Regions from separate parts of the Homo sapiens genome. Here region 1 is linked to region 2. Evidence: promoter capture Hi-C in 16 types of primary human blood cells and fetal thymus (Javierre and others, 2016). All regions are on one chromosome and are shown on one strand. Each heading gives the region's core, a stretch centred on a gene start or on the middle of the fragment in contact. The rest is flanking DNA. Distances are from core to core; before and after follow the strand shown. Region 1 overlaps DYTN (dystrotelin). Region 2 holds the start of CRYGD (crystallin gamma D).

The links. Contacts are between HindIII fragments. The CHiCAGO score rates a contact against its expected background, and 5 or more counts as called.
Region 1: a contact is called between a fragment that was not itself captured here and the fragment with the promoter of CRYGD in region 2, in 2 of 17 cell types (neutrophils and total CD4 T cells). The highest score is 6.7, in neutrophils.

What each region holds. Positions count from the first base shown.
Region 1 is chr2:206,706,246-206,710,404 of GRCh38, forward strand. DYTN (dystrotelin) reads right to left here. Exons shown (of 12, transcript NM_001093730.1): 3 at 1,057-1,258. Among named protein-coding and RNA genes, the nearest start is that of DYTN, 10 kb to the right of the region's middle. The HindIII fragment of the contact is 4,270 bases long and covers 171-4,159 here.
Region 2 is chr2:208,122,333-208,126,169 of GRCh38, forward strand. It overlaps CRYGD (crystallin gamma D), which reads right to left and starts at 2,192. Exons shown (of 3, transcript NM_006891.4): 1 at 2,133-2,192; 2 at 1,780-2,022. The coding sequence starts at 2,141. All of the region lies in intron 1 of LOC100507443 (a long non-coding RNA gene), which reads left to right. The HindIII fragment of the contact is 13,257 bases long and covers 1-3,837 here.

The DNA.
Region 1 (4,159 bases), core at 1,056-3,555, 1.4 Mb before region 2:
CACAGGAACAAATATTTATGCAAAGAAAAAAAAAATCTAGTTCACAGGCCCTCACTCAGAGCCTAATCATCCTTGCCCACTTGCTGTCTAGTTTACAAACGTACTGAACAATTTATCGAAGGCAGGGGAATTGTTAGAGACAGGCACAGATAATAGAAATGACAGTCAAAAGCTTAATGTTTAAGGAAGCTGAAATGAAAAAATAACTTGAGAATGTATGTATATATTGTTTGGGCAGTTAAAAAAAATTAAAAAAAAAAAAAACTAGAAGAGAAAATAACTGTAAGGAATTTGCCCAGTGGTTAAAACAGTGCTTGCCTCTGGGAGGCAGGCTGATGGGTGATAATGTATTTCTTCTTCTTTACTTTTTTCGTCTACTTTCCAAATGTTTTGAATTCACTATGATTTTTGAAAAGTTTATTCTAAAGGATGAATTCTAAAGGATGAAGTCTACTGAGTCAATGATACATAAGGTAAACCAAATCGAGGAGGGGGCAGAGGAATTGAAACCTTACAGCTCAAAAAACACACGCACCCCTACCACACACTAGCAGAACTATTGACTTCAGAGCATATGCAATCAGCCCTTTGACATGGTCTACACTGGTTTATAGGTTACCCATCCATGCACAGGATTTTCAACCTTATTCTAGCTAAAAAAAAAAAAAAAACAATTGATAATGGTTTACAAAGAAATCAGCAAAGAAGCTAGCAGTAGCAAGAACTAAGTGTCGCTTTTCACATGTGTATATGGAAGTGTAAACGCCCTAGCAAAAGGTGTGTATGCTTCTCTAGAGTAGGAGTGAATTTGTCTGAAGGAAAGAATAATGTGGAATTCTCTCCCTCTTTTTGCTATCCATGGGTCATTTATATTCCTAAAGCCGATGGGCATTTACTCCTTTGTTCTACTCCTGAGGAATAAATTTGTGAAAAACAAACAAAGAAGACTTCTTATATACCAAACCTCAAGCAAATATTAGCCAGCACCAAATGGTAAATGACCACTGGAAACTAAACTTTGCCTTTGAGGTCACAGCGCGACGTCCACACCCTCACCTGTTGTACATTGTCGTGAGAAGGCTCAGAGTGAGTTCCGGAGCTCTGGGATGCACTTGTCCTGGGTTTTCCTCCCTGGCCTTCTGAAACAGCTCTTGGAGTGCCTGAGAAAGTTGCTGCACAGAAAGGGAGTGCTTGCGAGCTTCCCAGAAACTTGGACGCAGTAGGACCTGCTGAATCAGGGAGCTGTCAATCAAGTCCACTGTAGGAAGCAAATGAAGAATTGAGCCTTATTTTCTGATGGGAACAAAAGGCTTCAAATAAAGCAAATGTCATTTGGTGTTTTATAATTAAGACTTTTTATGGTCGCTATTTTCTTTTAAGGGGAATGAAATATGACTACTATTTGGACATATATTCCTTGTGTATACTTCAGGCGTTACTATTCTAGCGATTCATTTGATTTTGGAAAGGTGCATCTGTTAGTAAAGCATAGTTGTAACATTATTACCAGTACAGTTTCTAGGATGTTGTTTTATAGAAAGAAGTTAAAAAGGGAAGTGAGAAACGAAAAATACGCTTTCCAAGAAAGTTATGACACTGTGGTAAAAAGTTGGGGAAAACATTTTTATACTCTTCATTAAGTGGATTGAATAAATTTACCTTTCCTGTTCAAATATAGTTTTTCTTGTCTGCAGCCCAGCTTCAGAAGCAATATGGTGTGTTGAAAAGCAATTGCCGTAGTTAAATACAAAACAGTGATCTTCATAAAAGAGCAGTTACTCTTCTGTAAAGATCTTTAGGCTAAAGAGTCTGAGAATTCTGCAACTCAGTAATACCACTGTTAACAATCTTGGTTCCATCAGTATTATTATCTAGAGAAGGCACTTAATAAAACTACAGCTGCTTACAAAAAATAATGGTTTATTTCTTATACTGAATATTTTTTAACCACCTTCTCCTAAAATTTTTACAAGGCAATGAATAGAAACAAGAATGTAATAGAGCTAACCCCATAGCTTCTTGCAGAGAGAGGATGACAGACAAAATTAATAAACAGCCACTTGCACCATCTGAGAGGTGGGGATATCAAGAGCGCCAAGAGCTCCTGGCATTTAAAACGCTTCAGCCTGTGAAACCATAAAACCCTGGGTTTCTCTCTACTTCGTAAATCAACCTCAGATAAGAAATCTAGCAAGTATAATAAAAATTTTTATTTGTTCTCTGATATTGCTTTTAAGAGGAGAGTCTAAGGAACAGAGGAACAAGTTTCAGAATGTGACTTAAATAAAAACCTGGCTGCAGGTGGTGAAGGCTGTAAACTCTTTTATCGTTAAAACCTGTCACCTCAGCCAGGCATTCTGAACACAGGCCGATTTCATCTCCTGCTGAGAGTTCTATATTACACCAAACCAGATAATAGTGGTGTCCATTAATCTCACCACAAGATTTATACAGCGATGTGTCCCCGATCTTCCTATTTGGAGCTCATGTTATGCTTTATCTCAGTGTTTGGGATTTTCTGTTTTTAAATTTTTGTTTGGATATCTTTTCTAGGTAACATTTTTCAACCACTGATTTTGTGTATTGTTAATATTTCCCATGAGTGTTATTTATATTCACTGTTTCTGATGCCAGAGATAACAAAAAGTTGAAAACTGTGCATCCACAAATTACGCTACGGAACATACTCAGGCATTCGTGACTGGGACATGTGAACAATTGCTGCTAACTTTCTCTAATGGGAGAAATTCTCCAGGAAAATGCATAATTGGGGGTAAATTTTTAGCTTTTTGTTTGTTCCTGGAATAATAAATAATAGTTATAAGTGAGTTTCTTTATCTAGAGCAGTAATCTACATAAAACTGTTTTTAAAACCAAAAATTTCTTCTTCAAAGGAACCTAATACAGAAACACAGTATAAGGCCAGGCGCGGTGGCTGATGCCTGTAATCCCAGCACTTTGGGAGGCCACTGTGGGCAGATCAGTTGAGCTCAGGAGTTCAAGACCAGCCCGGGCAACATGGCGAAACCCTGTCTCTACTAAAAATACAAAAAATTGGCAGGGTGTGGTGGCTCACGCCTGTGGTCCCAGCTACTCGGGAGGTTGAGGTGGAAGGATGGCTTCAGCCTGGGAGGCAGAGGTTGCAGTGAGCTGAGATCCCTCCACTGCACTCCAGCCTGGGTGACAGAGTGAGACCCCAGCTTACACACACACAGACACACACACACACACACACATACAAGCAAACACGGTATGGAAAATAGAGAAGGATGGAGTTGTTCCTGCTGAGGATGTGGTCTTTGAATCGTCCCACCTTGCTTGCAACTCCTCTTCCCACCTGGCTAACTCTTTTTTGCCCTACCCTACATTCACATATATTTTGTGAAGCCCAATTTGAAAACCACTGCCCTATATAACTTTTTAGGCAGGAGGAAAAATATTTTTAAATGTCAGCCTTCAGTAGAAATGTCATATATATAACATAACTTCTCTTAGGTCTGATATGATAAATTTCAGAAATCATTTTACGTGAAGTGATTTTTCTTTCATGCAGTGAGAAATCAATAACTTTAGATATGCTGAATGCCTGATGTGTTTCATAGCTTGGACCCAGTTTATTTTTCACCTTGGAAAATTTTCACAGGATACATGTTTTAGTAAAAACATTTTACCTTATTTTGCCTAGATAACAGTAGGAGAAAAGAAAAGAAAAGAAAACCATACATTCAATCAGATATAAATTTACTGCAAAAAGGGGCAGTTCTCAGGGAATTCTCGAGATAGTTTTAAAATTCATGGTCCATGGGTTATTTATTCATTTGTACCTACTTTTGCATGTTCATATATAGATTATAGGTACAACTTGAAAATGCAAATCTTACGTGGTAGATGGAATTTTATATTTTTATACTTAAATCTATAAGTGCAGTTTTGAAAATACTTTTTTTTTGCAATTTTATTTTGTGTCCATATTGGTATCCTGAAAAGGAAACCAAAAACATTTTCTAGAAGAAGCCAAGTGGAGAAAATATTTAAAAAATTAAAAATCCTCATGCACAATTATTTCTATTGCTCATCAGCAAAACTACACATGGTTTGCCTGCACGTGATGTTTTCCCATCCTCCATCTTCTCTGTCACGAATGGGCTAAATGCACAAG
Region 2 (3,837 bases), core at 942-3,441:
ATAATGTATAATTTTAATATACATATGATATCTAATACATATTTAATTATATACTATATTTAAAATATATTATAAAATGTATAAAATTATATTTTATTTAAAGTTAATCATATTTTATTTTAATAATTATATTCAAATTATATTTTATAAGTATAAATTAAAATTATATTTATTTTACAAATTATATTTTATTTTAAAATAACTTTACTAAAATATAAATAAAATATATTTAAAATACAGAAATATAAGGGGTGGGGCAGTGGCTCATGCCTGTAGTCCCAGCACCCTGGGAAGCCGAGGCAGGTGGATCACTTGAGGTCAGGAGTTCAAGACCAGCCTGACGAATATGGCGAAACCTTGTCTATACTAAAAATACAAAAATTAGCCAGGTGTGGTGGCGGGTGCCTGTAATCCCAGCTACTTGGGAAGAAAATTGCTAGGGCCCAGGAAGCAGAGGTTGCAGTGTGCCGAGATCATGCCACTGCACTCCAGCGTGGGGAACAGAGCAAGACTTCGTCAAAAAAAATAATAATAATAAATAATAAAATAAAATAAAATAAAAATAAAAATACAAAAATTAGCTGGGTGTGGTGGCGTGCTCCTGTAACTCCAGCTACTCAGGAGACTGAGAGACGAGAATCATTTGAATCCAGGAGGCGGAGGTTGCAGTGAGCCGAGATTGCACCACTGCACTCCAGCCTGGGCGTCAGAGTGAGACTCTGTTTCAAAAAACAAAAACAAAACAACAACAACAAAAATATATATATACACACATATAATGTAAATGAAATATATTAAAAATATATTAAAATATATTTAAAATATGTTAAATATATTTAAAATATAATATAATTTATGTAGTTATATAAATATATTAAATACATATTTATTAAATAAATATATTATTAAATACATTATATTCATTAAATATATTTAATGTAAATATATTTAAAATATAAAAATATGTATTTTAAATATAAGTATTTAAAATATATTAAATATATCATTTAATATATTGAATTAAATGATAATGCATCATTTAAATCAATGACATAAATAAAATATGTTAAATATATAAGCCTTCTATTCAAAATATAAGTGTTTTAAATATATTAAAATATAAATATTTAAAATATATTAAAATATAAAATGTTAAATATCTTCATATATTAAAGAACAATTAATTCTAAGTCAATAACTTGTGAATGCAATGAAGAAAAATGGAGGAAGAAACATCAGTAAGTCCAAGGACGAATTTTGCATAAACTTTAGTGTTCTAACACACATATGGGATAAAAGGGACACATGTGTAAAATATGTGTGTTGCTCTCCTTTGAAGGAAAGTCTTACTTATATAGGTTGGGAAAACCCAAAATATGCAAGAGAGGAGCAAAAACGGGAAAAAGTCTCAAAAGAAATTACCCTGTTTGCTCAGTAACTGCTGTACGCTCTAGCATTTATTCTTCTATTGGGTATTAGTGGTTTTTCTACAACTCCATTCTAAATGATTCCAGAATAGGACTTAAGTCTTATACAACCCCTAGGGCAGGAGACACATTCCTACTCAATACATATTTGTGGATTAATTGTGATTAACTGGTGTCTGGGTAATACTTTGCTTATGTGGGGAGCAAACTCTATTGACTTAATCCACTATAGTTCATCTTTTGTCCACTCTCAGTTATTGTGACTGATCACTACTTCTAATGTTTAACTTTTGCTTGAAACCATCCAGTGAGTGTCCTGAGGGCCTGGGTCCTGACTTGAGGATGTACTCACGTGGGGGATGAGGCGGCAGGAGCGGACCGAGTCGCTGAGGCCCATCCACTGCTGGTGGTCGGCATAGTCGCCGCGGCGCAGGAAGTACTGGAGGCCCGAGTAGTTGGGCTGCTCATAGAGCATCCAGCAGCCGCTGTCCACGCGCGCCGAGTTGCAGCGGCTCAAGTAGGGCTGCAGGTTGGGGTGGTCGCTGCTGCATTCATAGTGGCGGCCCTGGAAGCCCCGGTCCTCGTAGAGGGTGATCTGCAAGGCAAGGCGGGACAAGGCGAGGTCTCACAGGCCTGCTCCTGCCCCAGTCTCTGGCCCCCGCGATGGAGGAAGCTCCGGGGTCCCGGGGCGCAGGCTGGGCTCACCTTCCCCATGGCTGGCTGGGCGCACGGCGGTGCTGAGCTGGTGGGGCGGCGGCGCTGAGCGGGTGGGGCTGCGGCGCGGCGGGCTATATAGCAGGAGGGCTGCTGCGTTGGCAAGAACCGCACAAAAGGGGCCCCCGGAGGGGAGCAAGGGCATTTTCGTGTTCTCTTTTTTTCTCTTTGCTGTGCTAGACCACGGGGCTTGTTGTGGGTTTTGGTCGCATTCTCTCTGGAGTATTCGGATTGCTATCACTGGCTGATGCTATTGAGAATGTTTGTAAAACGGCAATTTGGGACATTGTCTATTTATAATGGAAGTGGAGCTTCAGCTATTTCACATATAGTTCACGCTTTTATTCGTATAGATTGGGGAAAAACAAAAAAAATTTAAGTCGGGGAGCAAAAAAAGCAACGACTCTTAATAAGGCAAATATAAATTAATCTGTCAGAACTACAGTATTACTTACGTGCCACAATATTGAATACTGATTGTTAATAGGAAGGAAATGGGCTTAACTGAATGTTGAAAATTTCAAGTTAGTCCTTTAAGAGAACGTCATCATGAAAGGGTGTAAGAAATTGGAACATTTTATTAAGAGAGTTCACAGAATTTCGAACTTTTATTATGGTAAAACACACAGCAAACGTGAATCTTCAATATTGGGTCTGATTTTGTTGCAATTATGCCTGGAAGTAGCTGAGAATTAGATGTTTTTCTCTTAGCTAAAGGTGGTGCCGTGATTCAAAAGAGAGAATAGTTCTAAGATGCTTAATCTCAGAAAGAACTAAAAAGGGAAATATCTAAGTTTGAGGAAATTAGAAAAAGTAATATGTTTGAAACACAAAAACATGATCTCTTAGCTTGTTATAAAATAAAACCAAATTCCTAAGAAACTTATTTCTGGTAGGATCTAGAATACACCTTTGCCCTCTGAACGAGCGAGAGTACACAAGGCCTTTGACTCAGACGAAATTAATTGCATGAACACAAAGGGGAGCTATGGCTGGAATGATGCAGGGAGAGGAAGGAATAAAAATCTAGAAGTTGGACTCGAGGAAGACTTCAGAAAGTACTTATTGGCCTGGAAGAGAGCAGTTTGATGGACTGGGAAGAGTACTGGAGTGGAATATGACCTATGTGTCCAGCTTCTTTCATGTTCAAAGAATTGCTTACAGCCCTGTGTCAACCCATGGAAGTACTTTGTCTTGTCTTTGAGTCATAAATCTTTGTAAGTGGTATTTATGAATTAAACACCAACTATGTGCAATACAAATTATTTTAATTCTTATTTTCTGGCTGCTTTTTTTTTTTTGTATTCTTTCTATATAGAGCTCTACGGTGGTAGGGAAATACCTTTTTCTTTTGTTTTGTTTTGATTGTTTTCTTCATCCCCATTGCTACATATAGCAGGCGTATGGTAGGTGCTCAAAAATTGGTAAGGATCCTAACTCAAGGAAGTTAAGAGTCTCTAGTGGCTAATAATTGGAGGCTATTGAAATGGAAAATAAACTTGTGGCTGGGTGTGGTGGCTCACACCTGTAATCCCAGCACTTTCGGAGGCCAAGGTGGGAGGGTCACTTGAGCCCAGGAGTTCGAGACCAGCCCTGGCAACATAGTGAGACCCCTTCTCTACAAAAAAGTGAAAAAATTAGTCAGGCATGGTGGTGCGCGCCTGTAGCCCCAGCTACTTAGGAGGCTGAGATGGGA